Regions from separate parts of the Homo sapiens genome. Here regions 1 and 3 are each linked to region 2. The links are contacts of gene promoters, found by promoter capture Hi-C in blood cells and fetal thymus (Javierre and others, 2016). All regions are on one chromosome and are shown on one strand. The core of a region is centred on a gene start or on the middle of the fragment in contact, and the rest is flanking DNA. Distances in the headings are between cores, read along the strand shown.

What was found. The method cuts DNA at HindIII sites, captures the fragments that hold promoters and counts their contacts. A CHiCAGO score of 5 or more calls a contact.
Region 1: the fragment with the promoter of CD163 here is called in contact with a fragment that was not itself captured in region 2 in 4 of 17 cell types (endothelial precursors, activated CD4 T cells, fetal thymus and 1 more); the score reaches 6.5 in endothelial precursors.
Region 3: the fragment with the promoter of GDF3 here is called in contact with a fragment that was not itself captured in region 2 in 9 of 17 cell types (M0 macrophages, naive CD4 T cells, naive CD8 T cells and 6 more); the score reaches 8.6 in M0 macrophages.

What each region holds. Positions count from the first base shown.
Region 1 is chr12:7,502,156-7,505,276 of GRCh38, forward strand. CD163 (CD163 molecule) reads right to left here and starts at 1,622. Exons shown (of 17, transcript NM_203416.4): 1 at 1,490-1,622; 2 at 323-409. The coding sequence starts at 1,535. The HindIII fragment of the contact is 3,696 bases long and covers 1,481-3,121 here.
Region 2 is chr12:7,235,613-7,238,663 of GRCh38, forward strand. It overlaps the pseudogene LOC100420983. Among named protein-coding and RNA genes, the nearest start is that of PEX5, 47 kb to the left of the region's middle. The HindIII fragment of the contact is 179 bases long and covers 1,395-1,573 here.
Region 3 is chr12:7,694,498-7,697,643 of GRCh38, forward strand. GDF3 (growth differentiation factor 3) reads right to left here and starts at 1,278. Exons shown (of 2, transcript NM_020634.3): 1 at 964-1,278. The coding sequence starts at 1,231. The HindIII fragment of the contact is 5,455 bases long and covers 1-1,627 here.

The DNA.
Region 1 (3,121 bases), core at 372-2,871, 270 kb after region 2:
TGTTTCCCAAATTCACTTTTGTTTTAATGATTCTGAAGTTTCTCCTCCTTTGTATTCTTTCCTATTTTTCAGTTCAACATTATTTCTAATCTTTAAGTAAAATTCATTTCTCTCCTGTGAGTTTATTTCATTTGGTGAGGAACCATGCTAATATTTTGGTTAGATTTTTATTGTGTGCTTTTAATAATATCTGATCCTTTGAATACATGGAGCATGTCACCTAGTTTTTAGATGCTACTTGGCCTTCAGAAAAATTGTTTGCCTTTTAACTGTTCTTGTCAGAGTGGGCTAAGGCTGTAAGTAAATTTGACAAAGTACTCACCAAGAGAACTGGTGACAAAACAGGCACTGAGAAGTAAGACCACAGTAATGGTGAAGGGACTCAAGTTGACAAAATGTCTTCTGAAGTCTGTGAAAAAGAAAAGAGGGCAAAAGTAGCATCTTCCCAAAAAGAGACTTTGGAGAAGATAGATGGTTTCAGAGGTTAATTAACAAAGAAGCTCAAACCAAGACAGAAAACTCTTCATTCTAAATTGCAAGGCAGGCAGAAAACATTCATACCCAGGCTCATATAGTTTCAGTGAAATGGTTTTGAAAATGTTCATGTTTATAGGCAACCTAGAGGTGACGGATTAGCAGAAGGTTGGTGGTGGAAACGAGAATTGCAAGGTCAACCCTTAAAACCTGGAAAATGGAAACAACATCAATGAAACTTAGTAGTGGACAATTCTCCCAGCAGGCACAGGGAAGGTATCCTGAGATTTCTCTATTCCCTAACCACCTTGATATTCAATTATGGATGCCCCCATCTTTAAGACTACCTAGCCGCACTGATAGAGGATAAGTTCCATGAGTAAACGAATTATATCTATCATGTTCACCATAATTTCACCAGTACCTGGCTTGATGCTTGCCAAATAGTAGCTAGCAGAACAATACCTAAGTGATGATATCCATATCTGAAAAACTCAAATATTAAATCTTGTCATCTCTACCTGTATCCTTATCACATAATACACTCTTTAATGCTGTTATTACTCTCATATCTTCTCGTTACTCTAACCCAACACTAATTTAAAACTAAAAATGCTAAATGATTTTAACATGTCCAAATAAGTCTTAAAATAGATAACTCACTTATCAGAGTAGATAACTTTCTTTATGTAATTAACTCTCTATCAATATTCCTTTCTGCATATTCTATCTTTTCTAACAACTATTTTTTCATACTCAGTACATTTCAGTTAACTTTAGTTCCTGACTTAATTTCACCTCAGCAGTTTTACAAAATTAATGCCGACTCTGATTCCCATATCACATCTTCAATTTTGAATCTATGGCAGATCAAAGGTGCTGCCATATAAGCCTATGTCCTTTTTCCACTCCTTACTCTCCTGATGCCAATCACTTTTAAATCACATCCATTGACTGTCATAATAATTACATACCCCATTAAAGGGGAAATGTAGAATAAATGAGAAGCTTTTACCAGCAGATCCAGAGTCTTCAAGTAGCACCATTCTGAGTTTGCTCATTCCAAAGATTTATAACTTCAATGATTCCTAAATCTTCTTGTATTATTCCCTAGAAATGTTCTTCTAAAGAAAACAACTAAGAATTCTAAAAATCACTTCACTTTCATGAAAATGAAAAGGCTACATATGGAGGCGGAGTCAACTCAAAAAGGGAAGTCATTGAAAGAGCTGAGGTTCCATTTCATACTCATGTTTTCTTCAATATAGCACATGAAACAACCAAAGGAAATTGGGAAACACTTCCCACAGATTTCGAAAAATTAGAGGAAATACTAACTCATATGCTGCTGTTGCTGAATTAAATATTTTACATTTTTGAACTTCATTTTGGACAAATATATAAGACACAAAAAATTACTAATTGTCATGTAGAAAAATTATGTAAAAAACTAAAGCAAAACAGGCAAAACATAATTAAATAACATTTTATCATATGCACTTTTAATTTTATTTCCATAATCAAATGTGTCTAATGAGTAATTTTGTGTAAGTTGTTGAGACACAGCATTTGTCATTTCTTTTCTAATGGGATGAAGTACACCAAGAGAATTAGCCATGACTATTACTGATATTACAAATGGTGAAACAAAAATTAGCAACACATGATTTTAGCTCTATATAACTCAGATTCAAGTAAGAGAAACACATATGATAACAACAATGAACATAAAGCTAAAGTGCAGTGTTAAAAATAATGGACAAAGTAGTCCTATCTATTGAGAGAAAGGAATGAACAGTCAGAAAACTATTTTCTCTGAGGACAGGCTTAAATTGTGTCCTAAAAGATGAGAAAAACATTGCCAAAGGGACAAATGATAAAGGAGTTTAAGGCATAAAAAATAGCACATACAAATGAATATTTGTATATAAAAACATATAAGCTCAAAAGAACTACTAATAGTTCATCATGGCATACATATTGTCAGGTGTTAGTGATGGGCCTGAAATGGGGAATTAAAGAGCAACTCCAGCCTTCCAGAGAGACATTCACTAGAACCCAGTCAACAAAGGCACCCCAGTTTTCTTCCACTTCTCAGGCATGCCAAATCTCTCCCTGCCTCATGGTATGTCATACATATTGTTCCTTCTGTGTTTACTGCCTCCCTACCCGTACCTTTCTCTAAGATAACTCTCACTCACGTATACTTTATTTCTCAGTTAAACCTCCCTTCACTAGGAGAAATAACTCTAACGCTGAAAGACCCCAGAAAATATGCACTCATGATAGCCTGTACTTATGAGGGTTGTCAATTATATATATATTTTTTTCCTTTTTTTAAATTATTATTATACTTTAAGTTTTAGGATACATGTGCACAACATGCAGGTTTGTTACGTATGTATACATGTGCAATGCTGGTGTGCTGCACCCATTAACTCGTCATTTAGCATTAGGTATATCTCCTAATGTTATCCCTCCCCCCTCCCCTGACCCCACAACCGTCCCTGGAGTGGGATGTTCCCCTTCCTGTGTCCATGTGTTCTCATTGTTCAATTCCCACCTATGAGTGAGAACATGTGGTGTTTGGTTTTTTGTCCTTGCGATGGTTTGCTGAGAATGATGGTTTCCAGTTTCATCCATGTCC
Region 2 (3,051 bases), core at 234-2,733:
CATGGTGAATTCCATCCAACATTTAAGGAAGCATTAACATTAATCCTTCACAAATTCTCCAAAAAATATGTAAGACCAGGATTTTGGAGGCTGGGCCTCAAAATGGGGTCATAGTATGAGCCACGATTATCTTGACACCAAAACCAAAGACATCACAAGAAAAGAAAACCACAAATTAATATTCCTTATGACTATAGGTGCAAAAAAATTCAAAAACATACTAGCCCACCTAACAAGGAACATATAAATGGAATATATTTCACAACCACGTGGGATTATACCAGAAATACAAAATTGGTTCAAACTATGAAAACCAATTAATATACCATATTAGTAAAACAAAGGACATAAATCACCTGATCATCTGAGTAGATGCAGAAAAATCATTGACAAAATTTAACACCTATTTATGGTAACAACCCTCAACAAACTAGCAATGAAAGGGAACTTTCTCAACCTGTTAAAGGACATATACAGAAACCCCACAGCTCACATCATACTCAACAGTTAAAGACTGAAAGTGCTCCCATTGAGATCAGGACTTACAAGAATATTCACTCTTGCCACTTCTATTCAACATAGAGGTGTTCTATCCAGGGCATTTAGGCAAGAAAAAGAAATAGCATCCAAATTGGAAAAGAAAAAGTAAAACTATCTCTATTCAACAGATAACATCACAATGTATATAGAAAATCCTGAGGAATACATACATACAAACACATACACACACTATTAGAGCTAATAATTGAGTTCATCAAAGTTGCAGGATATAAGATCAATATATAAAAATTATATCAACTGTATGTCTATATAATATCAATAAACAATCAAAAAATAAAATTCATAGAACAATTTCATTGAAAATAGAATCAGTTTTTAAAAATCTCATTTAAAATTGTATTCTCCAGATAATTTATCTAATTTACTAGACTTAGTACTAAATGCCACTTTTTTCCCTAAAGTCTAAAGTTTGCCATCAAAGTATGAAGATCTACTATCTCTGAGCACCTTCTGATCCTTAGAGCTGGTGCTTCCTATATAAAAGTTTCAAAGTATTCAGCAAGGATAATAAATTCAAGATGAGTATGAAGATTGCTTTCCAAGGTGATAACCTGGAAGGTTGTGGCCTCAAAATTGAGGTAGCATCTCAGTCCACTTTTTAACTCATGTCACATTACTTCACGGTCATATCCTCTATTTTAGTCAATAAAGAAGCCACTCAGCTGAAATAACTCATTATTTTCAAATTTTTTTTTTATTTGCTCCCAACCTGCCTTCCAATCCTTGAAAGGAAAAAATAACACCACCTCCTATACTGTTATAAAACTGCCAAATCTGTTTTTAAAATTTCATGTTTTTTATATTTATTTTCTTAAACATTTGATGACTAATTAAGCTTCCTGGTTGGAAAGGCCTTCCCGAGATGCTGGTTTCTTAAAACTTTGTACTAACCAGGCACTGGAGCCCTTACCTGTATCACCTTATTTCATCCTCACAATAAAGCTATACAGTAGGTGCATTTTTAAATCTCTGCTTTTCTAGATGAGGAAACTGAGGTTCAGAGAAGCATCCAAGCTTCTCAAAGTCAGAAGGTGTCAGAGTGGACATGCAAACCCAAATGTTTCCAGCTCTGGCACCCTCACACTCACCACCCAACCACACCCCTCTTAGGTTGCCCAGTTTCTAGGTACACTGACCAAGCACTTTCCTGGAATATTGAATGGGGGTAGTAAGGCTTAAGTTTAGATCCTGTGTTTAGATCTGGTAGGAAGAGCACAAATGGTTTGTAAGGAAAATCCCTTTAATGGTTACCTAATTTCAGATTGTGGGTGAAAACTCAAATATCCTGTCTCTAGGGGAAGAAGGAAATATTACAATTCATATAAAACTAAACCAACCTGTTTCTCTGTACTGTCCACACATGGTAAGAAAAGTTTCTTTTTCTCTAAATACTTTCATTGTTGCTACTAATCATAGTGCCATTGTTTTTGAGTACTTTATGATTTGTCAAGTACTTTTGTCCCAACTTTTAATTTTGCAAATTTTTGAGTCTACAAGTGTCAAAATAGTAGCACAATGAACACCTACTTGTACATCTCTCACCTATATTCACTTATTATTAAAATTTTGCCTCATTTACTTTATATTTGCTTTTTTCTTTCCTTTTTTGAGACAGAGTCTCACTCTGTCACCCAGACTGGAGTGCAGTGGTGCGATCTCTACTCACTGCATCCTCCGCCTCCTGGGTTCAAGTGATTCTCCTGCCTCAGCCTCCCGAGTAGCTGGAATTACAGGCACCCACCACCATGCCTGGCTAATTTTTGTATTATTAGTAGAGACGGGGTTTCACCATGTTGGCCAGCCTGGTCTCAAACTCCTGACCTCAAGTGATTGGCCCACCTTGGCCTCCCAAAGTGCTGGGATTACAGGCATGAGCCACTGCACCCGGCCTATTTGTATATTTTTAATGAGACATTTGGGAGTAAGTGCAGACATTATGATACTTTGTTCTTAAATATTTCAGCAGCATTCTCTGAAGAACAAAGATTTTCTTCTTAATCATCAGCATTATTACATCTATGAAAATTAAAAATAATTCTTTAATTCTATCTAATATCCAGCCAATATTTAGATTTTCTCAGTTGTACTCGAATGTGTTTTACAGCTTTGGTAAATCCAGAATTCAATCAAGGTTCATTTATTTATTTGGTTCTCATATCTCCTTAGTTATTTTTATCTAAAACTGTCCCACCACCATTGTTTGTTTTTCATGACATGGACATTTTGAAGAGTAGAGGACTGTTGTGTTAGAAAATGCCTCACTTTCTAATTTCCTTATAATGAGATCCGAGATAAACATCTTTCTCAAGAATGTTATGTAGGAAATGTGTAGTTCTTATTTGCTTATATTGAGGAAACATTGTGTTGTCTCGTTTTGGATACTGACAGTTTTGATCTTTCGATTAAAGAGGTGACTGCCATTTCTCTCCATTGTAAAGGTATATTTTCCTCTTTGTAATTAGTATGTAATCTGTTGTGTAATAATTTGAG
Region 3 (3,146 bases), core at 28-2,527, 460 kb after region 2:
CAGGAAGCGGAGGTTGCAGTGAGCTGAGAAAGTGCCACTCTACTCCAGCCTGGGGGACAGAGCGAGACTCTCAAAAAAAAAAAAAAAAAAAAAAGGCAAACTTTATCTTGTATTCTCAAGGCCATACACAGTTCCTGGCTCACCATAGGTATCCAATAAGTGCTTCTTGGACAAATAAATATTCAAATCTTCTCTCCAGTTGCTGTAAAACTAACCAAGGCTCTAAATTCTGCATCTGAAACACCCGGGAGGTTGTATAGACATGCAGATTCTCAACACCCATTTCAGACTTTGAATAAGAATTGGGTGGGGAGAACTAGGGGCAGGAATGGGGTTGGAGGATCTACTGTTAATGGAAGACCTAAGTTATTTGGTGGGTGGTCAGTTTGGGAAAGTACTGGATCCCACTCACTGAGATCCTTTTAAAAGGATATGACAGTTGTATATATTATTGCTCTCTATTCACAAATCTAGAATAACCTTTGCCACCCAACAAGAGTAGCCAGGAGGTACAAATAAGGGAAGCAGGACTCCTGGGCAAACCAACCTCAAAATTTTCATACCCTGCTTGCCACATGGAAGACGGCAGGATGTGTATATATGGGCTGCAGGGTGGGAGACTGAGCTCTGATTCCTCCCTCACCTCTTTCATCTCAACTGAAGCACAAAGCAGTTGATTCAGAAAACAAAAACCTATTTCAAATCCTGACTTTGTTCTCACACACTAGCTGTATGATCTTGAATAGATTACAGGTTACCTACTGTCTGAGCCTAATTTCCTTACTGTTAGGAACTTGATAAGAATATCTAACTTCCTCTCAGGATCGTGGCTGGAATTAAATGAGACAAAATATGAAAAATACCAGCACAAGGCCATCAGTAATTGTCATTTCCTATTGTCCTTTCCTTTCTTCACACCACCCAGTTCCAGATGTTTTTCTGGATAACACTCTATTTCCTTACCTTGGTCTGGGAGAAAGCGAAGTACATTCCCGCGGACGCCCAGCTCCTTTACGTAGCATAAGTCTCGGGAGACCCCAGTGGTCGCTGCTGCCTCGCGATCCTGGAAAATTTTCTTCAAGATATAAGGCACAGGTTGGAACTTCTGGGGTGAAGGCGCCTTATCTAAGCCCAGAAATTGGAGAAAGACATATTCTTGAAATTGGACTGCCTGGCCCAAAGCCAGAATTAACAGGAAGCTGAAAGCCAAATCTGGCAAGAAACGAAGCATGGCCTCTGGAGTGGCTGTCAGACCGGGGAGAGCTCCACTGCCAGACTGCCCAACAATTCAGAGGCTGCTAATTTATCTGATGTAAGATAATCAAGTGTGAATTGCTCTCTTCCCAGCTCCTCAAAGGCCATTGGATGTGAAGAGGGAATTTTTTTTTCTCTTCTCTTGCTCTACTCTTCCAGGAAAAAGTTCACAGAACAAAGATTACCAATGCATGGACATAAATTCTACAACAATGTGAGGTTGTCAGCAGTAGACAGAGTGAAAAGGAGACATGCATTTATTCATTTAACAAACAGTTACTAAGCATCTATTATGTGCACGGTGCTGAGATAGGTGCTAGGAATAGAGCAGTGAATAATTCATAGACTTGTAATTAATCATCTACATAGACCAAGCTTGTCCAACCTGCGGCCGGAGGGTCACATGAGGCTCACGATGGCTTTGAATGCAGCCCCACACAGATTCATAAACTTCCGTAAAACATTATGAAACTTTCTTGTGATTTTTTTAAGCTCATCAGCTATCATTAGTGTTAGTATATTTTACGTGTGGCCCAAAACAATTCTTCTTCTTCCAATGTGACCCAGGGAAGCCAAAAGATTGGACACCCCTGGATTAGACAAATACTCAAGTAGATTTCATTATTTTATTTTTATTTTTATTTTTATTTATGTATTTATTTATTTTTGAGACAGGGTCTCGCTCTGTTGCCCAGGCTGGAGTGCAGTGGCCTGATCTTGGCTCACTGCAAGCCTCGACCCCCTGAGCTCAAGAGATCATCCCACCTCAGCCTCTGGAGTAGTTGAGACTACAGGCATAGGGCACCACTTCCAGCTAATTGTTTTATTTTTTACAGAGATGGGGCCTTGCCATGTTGTCCAGACTGGTCTTGAACTCCTGGTCTCAAGCAGTCTTCCCACCTCGGCCTCCCAAAGTGCTGGGATTGTAGGCATGAGCCACTACACCCAGCCGCCAGCCTTGTTTCTCACCACCCACCATCCTTAGTGTGGATGCTCTAATTACATTGACCTATTTGTAGCTCTGTGAGCTCATTTCATCTCAGAGCCTTTACACAGACCAAGTTCAAAGGTCACCTCTACTTCCACAGTTTCGACTCACCAAAATAGATTGAGATACTTCTTTCTCCCACTGAGCCATACTTGGGCATCCATTACAGTTTTTTTGTTTTTTTGTTTTTTTTGAGACGGAGTTTCGCTCTTGTTGCCCTGGCTGCAGTGCAATGGCACGATCTCAGCTCACCACAACCTCTGCCTCCCAGGTTCAAGCAATTCTCCTGCCTCAGCCTCCCTAGTAGCTGGGATTACAGGCATGCGCTACCATGCCCGGCTACTTTTGTATTTTTAGTAGAGACGGGGTTTCTCCATGTCGGTCAGGCTGGTCTCAAACTCCTGACCTCAGGTAATCCACCCACCTCGGCCTCCCAAAGTGTTGGGATTATAGGTGTGAGCCACTGCACCCGGCCCTCCATTACAGTTTCTGCAGTGCATTTTACTGTGTTTGCCTCCTTCCTTTTCAGACAACTCACACCTTGAGGATCAGAACTGTGTCTCTTTGCCTAAGTATCTTCAGTGTGTCTTTTTCCCCAAAGTATCTCCACTGGTGAAGAAAGTGTCCGGCAGGTAGCAGACATTTGATAAGTATCTGTGCAAAAAATAAATTAAGGAATTAATTGGTTGCTATTTCTAGAGGTCTCACTCTTTTATATAGTGAGGTCTTCCCCATTTCTTTTTTTTCTTTTTTTTTTTTAGAGACTAGGTTTGGGGAGTGTCTCACTGTGTTGCCCAGGCTGGCCTTGAATTACTGGATCAAGGGAATCTTCTGCCTCAGCCTCCAAGTAACTAGAACTACAGGCAGGTGCCACTGCTCGCAGGTCCCACTTCTCTTATCTCCT